2 separate regions of the Homo sapiens genome follow, and region 2 is linked to region 1. Evidence: promoter capture Hi-C in 16 types of primary human blood cells and fetal thymus (Javierre and others, 2016). All regions are on one chromosome and are shown on one strand. The core of a region is centred on a gene start or on the middle of the fragment in contact, and the rest is flanking DNA. Distances in the headings are between cores, read along the strand shown. Region 1 holds the start of SP1 (Sp1 transcription factor). Region 2 overlaps ATP5F1B (ATP synthase F1 subunit beta).

Region 1 (4,613 bases), core at 851-3,350:
TCAAGCTGGTCTTGAACTCCTGACCTCAGGTGATCCGCCTGCCTCGGCCTCCCAAAATGCTGGGATTACAGGCATGAGCCACCGCGCCCAGTCTATATATTTACTTATTTTGGAGCAAGGTCTTGCTTTGTTGTCCTGGCTGGAGTGCAGTGGCAGGATTTGAGCTCACTGCAGCCTCAACCTCCTGGGTTCAAGCGATTCTTCCACCCCAGCCTCCCGAGTAGCTGGGACTACTGGCGCACATCACCACGTCTGGCTAATTTTTGTTATTTTTTGTGGAGACGGGGTTTCACCATGTTGCCCAGGCTGGTCTTTAACTCCTGGGCTCAAGCGATCCGCCCGCCTCGGCCTCCCATAGTGCTGGGATTACAGGTCTGAGCCATTGCGCCCGGCGGCAGTTTAATTCCCTCAAGAATTTATAGAAAACTTTTGGTGGAACTATTCTGGGTTGGAATCTAACACTACAACTCATTTGCTTTGTGACCTTGGGTAAGTCACTTCTCAGCCTAAATGTCTTCACTTATAAAATACATAATATAGCTGATACTTAATAAAATCTTCCTTTTAAGGATGACATGGAATACTAACTGCCTCCCTGACTTAGGCACCTAACACGGTAGGCAGTCAGCAATCACTTCACCTTTTTACCTGTTTAAAGCAGCAGAGGCCTCAGTTCTTACCTTCAAAGGGCTTAAAATAGTTTAGGAGAATTCACATTTTAAAACATAAGAACATATAAGCAGGTGACAACATATAAGATACAAATACTGAAGGACATGACCTCATCGTGTCATTGACAAGCTATTAAGGCCGGCTCCACCAAAACACGGATAAAGAGGAGGCCAGAAATCCAGGTGCCTGCAGTAAAGTTTCTTAACCTTCGTGATTGCAAAAAGCTGGAGCTCAGCTATCTTGCTTTATGCATAGGCGGTATTTACTATTAAGGGGGAAAAAATGGAAGTGACTTATCCGCACTTTAGCCTCAAGGCTTGAAAAGTTAACCAGTCGTTTAAGTGGTTAGCGCCTTTGTCTGGGGGAACTTAATAAAATCGCGTTTTCTGGAGTCTCACGGAGACTCTGCATATTGGTCAGCTCAGTATTAACTTATTCGGTGAGTGCTGTCACCAGATCTCGTCCCGCCTGCATTCCCAGGGCTTGCAGCGACATTGAGGCATCTGCCCGCCTGTCCGACCACCCGGGAGGGGGGTAAGATTTGAGAGGTACTTTATAGGGGCAGTTAAATGAAGACGCAAACAAGTCCTAGTGTTGATGCGGAACTGCGCGCCGAATGCCTTGGCTCTGACACCTGTTGAGCTGCAGGACTCCGCTAAAGCGTCCCACCTAATGACTGTAACAACGTCCCCTGAGGAGGGCCAATATGGCGACGGTCTCCTCTTGGCATAGCCCTCTTCCCTCCCTCATGATGGGCAGCTCCAGTAACGCCCATTGGCTAACTAGGAGGCGGTGCCAGGCCTACTTCGTCCCCTCATTGGATTGAATAACTGAGGGAGCCGCCAATTCTCCTCTGCCACTCCAAGTTTCCGCCCTCAGTTAATTCGGCGTTTAATTGGCTTTTAGTTCACGTCAATATGCGTCCTTTCCTGTCTCTTTTCAGTCTAACTCCAATCATAACGTTCCTGGCTGCCCGCCTGATTTCTGATTGGTTTTAATCAGCTTCATCCTCTCCTATTCCTGCCTACTTCTTACCTCTCCGCCCACTAGGATTTTGCCCAAGCATATCCCGGATTCTGGTTGGCCGTTGTTCTGTCATTCCTATCAAAGCTTTGCCTATCCCTACGTCTCAGGGAGCCCGCCTGCCGGTTGACTGGTTTCCTTCCAAGCCAATCATCTCCAGCTCCCGCCCATCTTCACTTCCTGCATCCTTCATTGGCTTTTAACACTGAGAGGGCGGTCTTTTTAGGCGGACACCAGGCACGCAACTTAGTCTCACACGCCTTGGAGAGCAAGCGAGTCTTGCCATTGGATAATTCCACCGTCTTTCTTCTGCAAGTCCCTCCTTTCCCCCTCCCTCATTGGGCGGGGCAGCAGAGAAGGGGCGGGGCCTAGGTTGGGCTTGTGGCGCGCTGCTCCCTCCTCCTTACCCCCCCCTCCCTGTCCGGTCCGGGTTCGCTTGCCTCGTCAGCGTCCGCGTTTTTCCCGGCCCCCCCCAACCCCCCCGGACAGGACCCCCTTGAGCTTGTCCCTCAGCTGCCACCATGAGCGGTAAGGATGAGTCCACTCCAAGCTTAGGGGTGGGAGGCGAGTGAGGGGGCGCGCGCGAGGGCCGACCGGGCGATCCCCGCCGTGAAGCGGGGGCGGGCGGGAGGCGGCGGCGGCGGCGGCCTAGGTCCCGCCCGGGGCGGAGGGAAGGGAGGGAGACGGGGCAGTGGCGGGGCCTCCGAGGAGGAGGGGGATGGGCCGCCCGCCCCGGGGGAGGGGGCAGCGTGGCCTCGCCCGCCCCCTGCCCGCCCCGGCCACGGGGGACGGGCCTTACCCCCCACTACTCGGCCGCCCGCCTGAGGCTCCTCCCGCCGGGGGCTGGAGCCGCGGGGGCGGCCCGAGCAGCGAAGGCCCCGCCCGGGCCAACCGCCTGCCTGGTCCGCCCTCTGGTCGCCGCCTGCTCCAAGGCCCTCCTCCCCCCACTTTCCGTAGATTTCCCTTCCCCCCCGCCCCCCACCGTCCCGCCCTTTCCACGCCCCTCACCCCGAAACCGCCCTTTCCCTCAGGGCCCGCCCTCCGCCCCGAAACCTTCTGACTACTAACCTGTAGATCCCTTTAGTTCCTTAGCAGTATTCACAAATGTTTTTCTACTCACACTTTTTACTTCTTTTTCCCCTCTCGTTACTTTTCACACTTGGATTTTTGTTTGTCTTTTTTTTTTTTTTTTTTTTTGAGACGGAGTTTTCGCTCTTGTTACCCAGACTGGAATGCAATGGTGCGATCTCGGCTCACTGCAACCTCTGCCTCCCGGATTCAGGCGATTCTCCTGCCTCAGCCTCCGGGAGTAGCTGGAATTACAGGCATGCGCCACCACACCCGGCTAATTTTGTATTTTTAGTAGAGACAGGGTTTCTCCATGTTGGTCAGGCTGGTCTCAAAACTCCCGACCCCAGGTGATCTGCCTGCCTCCGCCTCCCAAAGTAATGGGATTACAGGCGTGACCACCGCGCCTGGCCTCTCCATCTCTTTTAAACTTAATTTTAGCAAGCTTTCCATGCACCCACATGTTGTTTTATGCCTTACCTGTCCTTTTCCTTTTTTTCCCTTAGGATACTTTTTCTTATTTAGAAACTCTCACCATGCCTACCGTCCTTCACATTTCCTATCCCCAAAGCACTTTTTGAATGTTTTCTTAGTTTAATTTTGTACAAGGGAGAATTAAGGCCCACTTTTGGCACATTGAACCTAGTTCATGTCCTGCATGCCCTGCAGCTCCCCTCTGCCCTCCAATCCATTTTCTTTATACTGGTGGCTTTCGCCTTCCTGTTAGTCATTGCTATTTCATCATAGCCTCCTTTTATCCTTCCTACTTCATTTCTTTTCTTCCCTCAAGTTTACGTTGTTTGTTTTTTAATTATTTTAGACCAAGATCACTCCATGGATGAAATGACAGCTGTGGTGAAAATTGAAAAAGGAGTTGGTGGCAATAATGGGGGCAATGGTAATGGTGGTGGTGCCTTTTCACAGGCTCGAAGTAGCAGCACAGGCAGTAGCAGCAGCACTGGAGGAGGAGGGCAGGTAAGTGATAATCATAGAGTGGGGAAGGTGTTGAGAAGATGTAAATATTCTTAGATAATTGCCTTACTCTTCACAGAAAGCGTTTTAGGGAGAGACTAAACCATTTTATAGATAAGGAAGTAAGAGAATGGAGATCCCCAAAGACAAAGGAGTTTCAGCAATACAGATAGGTCAGCTTTTTGTTTCTGTTTTTTGCTCCTTGTCTGCACTACGTTGCTGTTTATTTGTTGTATACTGCCCCCTAGGCTGGCAGCTGGGTGTCACTAACTCCTTTCCTCTCCCTTATTTTCGGCCAGGAGTCCCAGCCATCCCCTTTGGCTCTGCTGGCAGCAACTTGCAGCAGAATTGAGTCACCCAATGAGAACAGCAACAACTCCCAGGGCCCGAGTCAGTCAGGGGGAACAGGTGAGCTTGACCTCACAGCCACACAACTTTCACAGGGTGCCAATGGCTGGCAGATCATCTCTTCCTCCTCTGGGGCTACCCCTACCTCAAAGGAACAGAGTGGCAGCAGTACCAATGGCAGCAATGGCAGTGAGTCTTCCAAGAATCGCACAGTCTCTGGTGGGCAGTATGTTGTGGCTGCCGCTCCCAACTTACAGAACCAGCAAGTTCTGACAGGACTACCTGGAGTGATGCCTAATATTCAGTATCAAGTAATCCCACAGTTCCAGACCGTTGATGGGCAACAGCTGCAGTTTGCTGCCACTGGGGCCCAAGTGCAGCAGGATGGTTCTGGTCAAATACAGATCATACCAGGTGCAAACCAACAGATTATCACAAATCGAGGAAGTGGAGGCAACATCATTGCTGCTATGCCAAACCTACTCCAGCAGGCTGTCCCCCTCCAAGGCCTGGCTAATAATGTACTCTCA
Region 2 (4,613 bases), core at 987-3,486, 3.3 Mb after region 1:
GGCTCCTAGGAGGCCTAGGGGTGCAGGAGAGGGAACTCAAGGCCGAGCCTGCTGGGGGTCACGCGCAGCGCCCTACTAGGTGAACTGGTTCCCCGTGTTTCAGCTCCTCAGGGCTCCATCCCTACGGCTGTGGGGCCTTTGGAATCAGGAAGCCACGAAGGCAAAAACCTCCTATCCTCTCAACCTCAATCCTGCGTCCCACTCAGTGCCCTCAGTGACTGTAGTGTGGGGGCCATCAATAGCAGCCCTGGTGAGGCTGATGTGGGACCATGAGAATCGACTTTGGTTCAGTTTTCCCCCAACCACCACCACCCTTGCTTCAGTCTCTGGGGCAACAGGAAGCAGCTGCTCAGTGCAGCCCCCACCTGAAGGTGGGTCAAGGTGGGGGAGGAGAGAAGACAGACTTAAAAGGCCTTAGAAAAATGAGAGGGAGGGGAGGCATTTTAAAGACCTTCCAGCACTGCCAAAAGCCGGCTTTACTTTTGTGGGGGCTAGCAGTGAGTACTGTCAAAATTTCCTTGAATCTCAACAGCTTAAATGGGGAGGAGCAGGGGCAATCCTCCACGGGGCGGCGGGGAGGGGGCTGGGAAAGCCCTGGCCTAAGATGCGTCTCAGGCTCTTCCTTAGAACTGGGGCTTGCCCATACTCAGGATCCCGTGGTCGGCAGCCTCGCTAGCTGAGCCCTGTGCCCCCCGTCCCCCAGAGTCCTGTTTCCTCTCCTTCAGCCCCCAAATGAGCAAAGGTTAGGCCCCACCCCTGCTGAGTCAGCCAGGGAGGGAGTAGGCATCCCTCAGGCCTTCCCCGGGGCTGGTCCCCATACTCACCCATGTCAGGCTGGCACAGCTCCAGGCTGGGACCACCCAGCTCCTCACTGTCCTTGGGCCTCCACTTCACGTAAAGGTTGGTGTTGGATCCTCCCAAACTGTGAGCTGGGAACTAGCAAGAATCAAAAAGCCAGTGTATGCTTCCTGCGAACCACACAGCCTGAACTGCTGTAGGGTGATGTCCCTGTGTGACAGACTGGGGTGGGGAGGGAGGAGGGAAGGGCGGGGCTTTCTCTGGGTGGAGAGAGGGAGGAGGCGAGGACAGGGCAGACCAGGAGAAATATGGAGGAAGGTTAGAGAGCTGTGTTGACACTCCAGTGGCATGGTAGAAGAGGCCGGCAAAGGGGGAAGGAAACAAATAGTTGCAGCTACTGAGAGGGAGAAGGTTCTCGATAAACGCTGAAGGACGTGAACATGTTGGGGGAAGGGGTGGAGGGATGCAAAAGACCTTTAGGATTTCAGTTCCCAGGTCTGTATCGGGTGACGTGAGAAAACAAAGCAGAAAGGGCTGACCTGTACCCTAGGGCTTTTTCTACCAGCTTCTTACCCACTCCAGAGTCAGGACCTAGAGGAAGTGTCCACACCCCCATAACTCAGCATTTCCCCAAATCCCAGCTTTTCTGGGAGCAAACTACCAGCACAAGCAGCTCAGGGGCTCCACCTTCTGTCCAGATCATGACACAGGAGAGACTGCGGGAGAGGCTGCTGCCAAGGACGTCACAGGCAGATGGAAGGAAGCTTAGAGGCCCCTACTCCACCCCTGGCCCCGCGCCAAAAAGCCCTCCCCAACCTTCAGCCCCCAGGGGCCTCTGAATTGGAGCTCAGCTTGTCCCCGCCCAGCTTCTACCTAACTTGATGGACTCAGCGGGTGGAGCTTATAGATACAGGCTCCTCCCCAGGACAAAAGCCCCAGCTGGTCTGTAAACAGTCTTTAACTGAGAGCCACATCCCAGCAAATGGCCTTCATGGATTTGAAAATGGGATCAGAGTTCTTGCAGAGTCTCCAGTGCTACCGCGAGAGGGCAGTCGGATGGGTCTGGTCCCGGAAAAGAACACAAGAGGAACCCAATCTGACCTTGCACGCTTCTTTTAAATTGAAATGGTAAAATATATCTTCTACCCCTGCACCTCTCAGTCGGCTAAAATGAAGGGAAAATAACCTAACTTCATTAGTTTAGAAGCCCAAGCCAGCAACTCTGAAAATTGCTATTCCCTTGTAAGATTATCTTTTCTGGACTTTCATAAGGGGATCTTCACAGAGGGTGGACTAGGCCTTATGGTATTATATGCCTCTGCATAGCCTCAAGGAATCACAAGCAACTTTTATTTAGGCTTGCCCAAAATGTCAGGAAGTAGTTAAGTACACTTTCTGAAGACATGAAGGCCTAACCAAGATGTAGAGAACCCTTTTGATTCCATTTTAACAAAGATCAGTATTCTTCATCACTATTTCTTGAAAATTTAATTCATTAAACTCAGATTAACCCCTGGAAATAAGTTATTTCTAAAACGAGTTTTTCCCAATATGCCCTTCAAAAAAGTCCTATTTTTAACCAAGAAGTAGGGATGTGCCACATGGAATAGAGGCCAAAAAAAAAAAAAAATCAATTTGTATTGAACAAAAGGCCCAAAACTGAGGCCCTACTAAGATCACACTACCCACAGGAAACCCCTCACAAGAGGTACGGTTGTCCATCAACAAAAGAGAATGGCTATTTTTAAGGACCAATTTCAAACATACATGGCCCACTTCATGCTGAAACTGCTTCTTATAGCCACTCTAAAAATCTAATTGTTGAAAACAGTGCTGGTGATGTGAGACTACATACACCTGTAGCCCCAGCTACTCAGGAGACTGAGGTGGGAGATCTCGAGCCCAGGAGTTAGAGACCAGTCTTGGCAACACAGCCAGACACCGTGTCTCTAAAACTAAAATTAAATACATAACCCTTCAGTGTTGACTATGTTGTCAGAACCAAGAGAATCAGACAAATTCTGAGGGGTGTACATTTTATTGGAAACCTTAAATACTGTTCAGAAAGAATATATCTTCAATCAAGGCTCTTGTGCAGCCTACACAGAAAAATGAAGCTTTTTGGGTTAGGGGCAAGGAGAGAGACAGTACAGAGGACAAAGACCCCTCACGATGAATGCTCTTCAGCCAGCTTATCAGCTTTTGCCACAGCTTCTTCAATGGGTCCCACCATATAGAAGGCCTGTTCTGGGAGATGGTCATATTCACCTGTATGATGGGGGAGAAAAAAAAAAAGAGTAAGAAGCGGAGGGATATCAACTTTCTGCATCATGTAACATTCCTCACCACTTCAGGCCATCAGTTAGAATGTGATGAATTCATGTCATCTTAGAAAGCTTAAATTTCCCTCACAAATCAAATTTACAAGATATGATACAGTATGAATTAAGAACACATGGGCCAGGCACGGTGGCTTACACCTGTAATCCCAGCACTTTGGGAGGCCAAGGCAGGCGGATCACCTAAGGTCAGGAGTTCGAGACAAGCCCAGCCAACATGGTGAAACCCCATGGCTACTAAAAATACAAAAATTAGCCAGGCGTGGTGGCGTGTGCCTGTAATCCCAGCTACTTGGATGGTTGAGGCTGGAGAATCACTTGAACCCGGCAGGTGGAGGTTGCAGTGAGCCAAGATTGCACCAGTGTACTCCAGCCTGGGCGACAGAGACTCAGTCTCAAAAAATACATATAAAATAAAAGGGAGCTAGAGAATCAAGTAACAAATCACACTCAAATTAAATGTAGAGTATTTTCAAACAAAATCAATGGGTAAGTTTGTTTTTTAAATTAAAAAATATAATTAAGCATAGTATATTACATATATTGCTTGACGGTTGTTGGAATGGGACCACAGCACAGTAAACATTCAAGATTTGTACTCAAAATCTCACCTGCCAAAATCTGCTGGAATCCTTTGATGGTCTCCTTCAGGGGTACCAGCTTCCCCATATGACCTGTGAAGACCTCAGCAACCTGGAATGGCTGAGACAAGAAACGCTGTATTTTCCGTGCACGGGACACGGTCAACTTGTCTTCCTCAGAAAGTTCATCCATACCCAGGATGGCAATGATATCCTGGAGGGATTTGTAGTCCTATGAGAAAAAAGAAGACTGAGTTAAGTATTCTCATTCCTTTAATTTGGACAAGCTAACAAAGGGAAAGTTACATGCTAGGGGGCAGAGAAGGTGGTGGTGTTATGAGGGCCCTCAGCCAAGAAAGATCAGTGTCTTGTTCTCCATAGTCCTAGTTTGGTGCTGTTAGAAAAATATTGCATTCCGCCGGGCGCAGTGGCTCACGTCTGTAATCCCACCACTTTGGGAGGCCACGGTGGGTGGATCATGAGGTCAGGAGATCGAGACCAGCCTGACCAACTGATGAAACCTGGTCTCTACTAAAAATACAAAAAGTAGCCAGGCATGGTGGCGCGCACCTGTAATCCCAGGTACTCAGGAGGCTGAGGCAGGAGAATCGCTTGAACCTGGGAGGCGGAGGTTGCAGTGAGCCGAGATGGCACCACTGCACTCCAGCTTGGGAGACACAGTGAGACTCATCTCAAAAAAAAAAAAAAAGAAAGAAAAATATTGCATTCCAAAGCGTTAAGTACCTGGAAACTCAAGAGACCTCATTAGCTCTCACTAGCAATTGCCAGCCTCAACTTTCCTTGCTCCAAAACAAATCACTAAGAAAGATCCAGTCCTCATATAGTCCCCACAGGCCCTCTTTTTGACTTTCCGGACACTGATCCCACATAGTAA

Evidence for each region. The method cuts DNA at HindIII sites, captures the fragments that hold promoters and counts their contacts. A CHiCAGO score of 5 or more calls a contact.
Region 2: a fragment that was not itself captured here is called in contact with the fragment with the promoter of SP1 in region 1 in 1 of 17 cell types (total B cells); the score reaches 5.8 in total B cells.

What each region holds. Positions count from the first base shown.
Region 1 is chr12:53,378,076-53,382,688 of GRCh38, forward strand. SP1 (Sp1 transcription factor) reads left to right here and starts at 2,101. Exons shown (of 6, transcript NM_138473.3): 1 at 2,101-2,223; 2 at 3,584-3,738; 3 at 4,035-4,613. The coding sequence starts at 2,217. RefSeq lists enhancers at 1,194-1,694, 1,598-1,897, 1,730-2,024, 2,875-3,633, 4,046-4,295 and a silencer at 2,138-2,767. The HindIII fragment of the contact is 463 bases long and covers 1,781-2,243 here.
Region 2 is chr12:56,635,358-56,639,970 of GRCh38, forward strand. ATP5F1B (ATP synthase F1 subunit beta) reads right to left here. Exons shown (of 10, transcript NM_001686.4): 9 at 3,749-3,950; 10 at 2,818-3,066. The coding sequence ends at 2,966. It also overlaps a transcript of BAZ2A not described here. Among named protein-coding and RNA genes, the nearest start is that of SNORD59B, 6.1 kb to the right of the region's middle. RefSeq lists enhancers at 1-100, 1-497, 1,381-1,550, 1,524-2,035, 1,528-1,822. The HindIII fragment of the contact is 1,353 bases long and covers 1,561-2,913 here.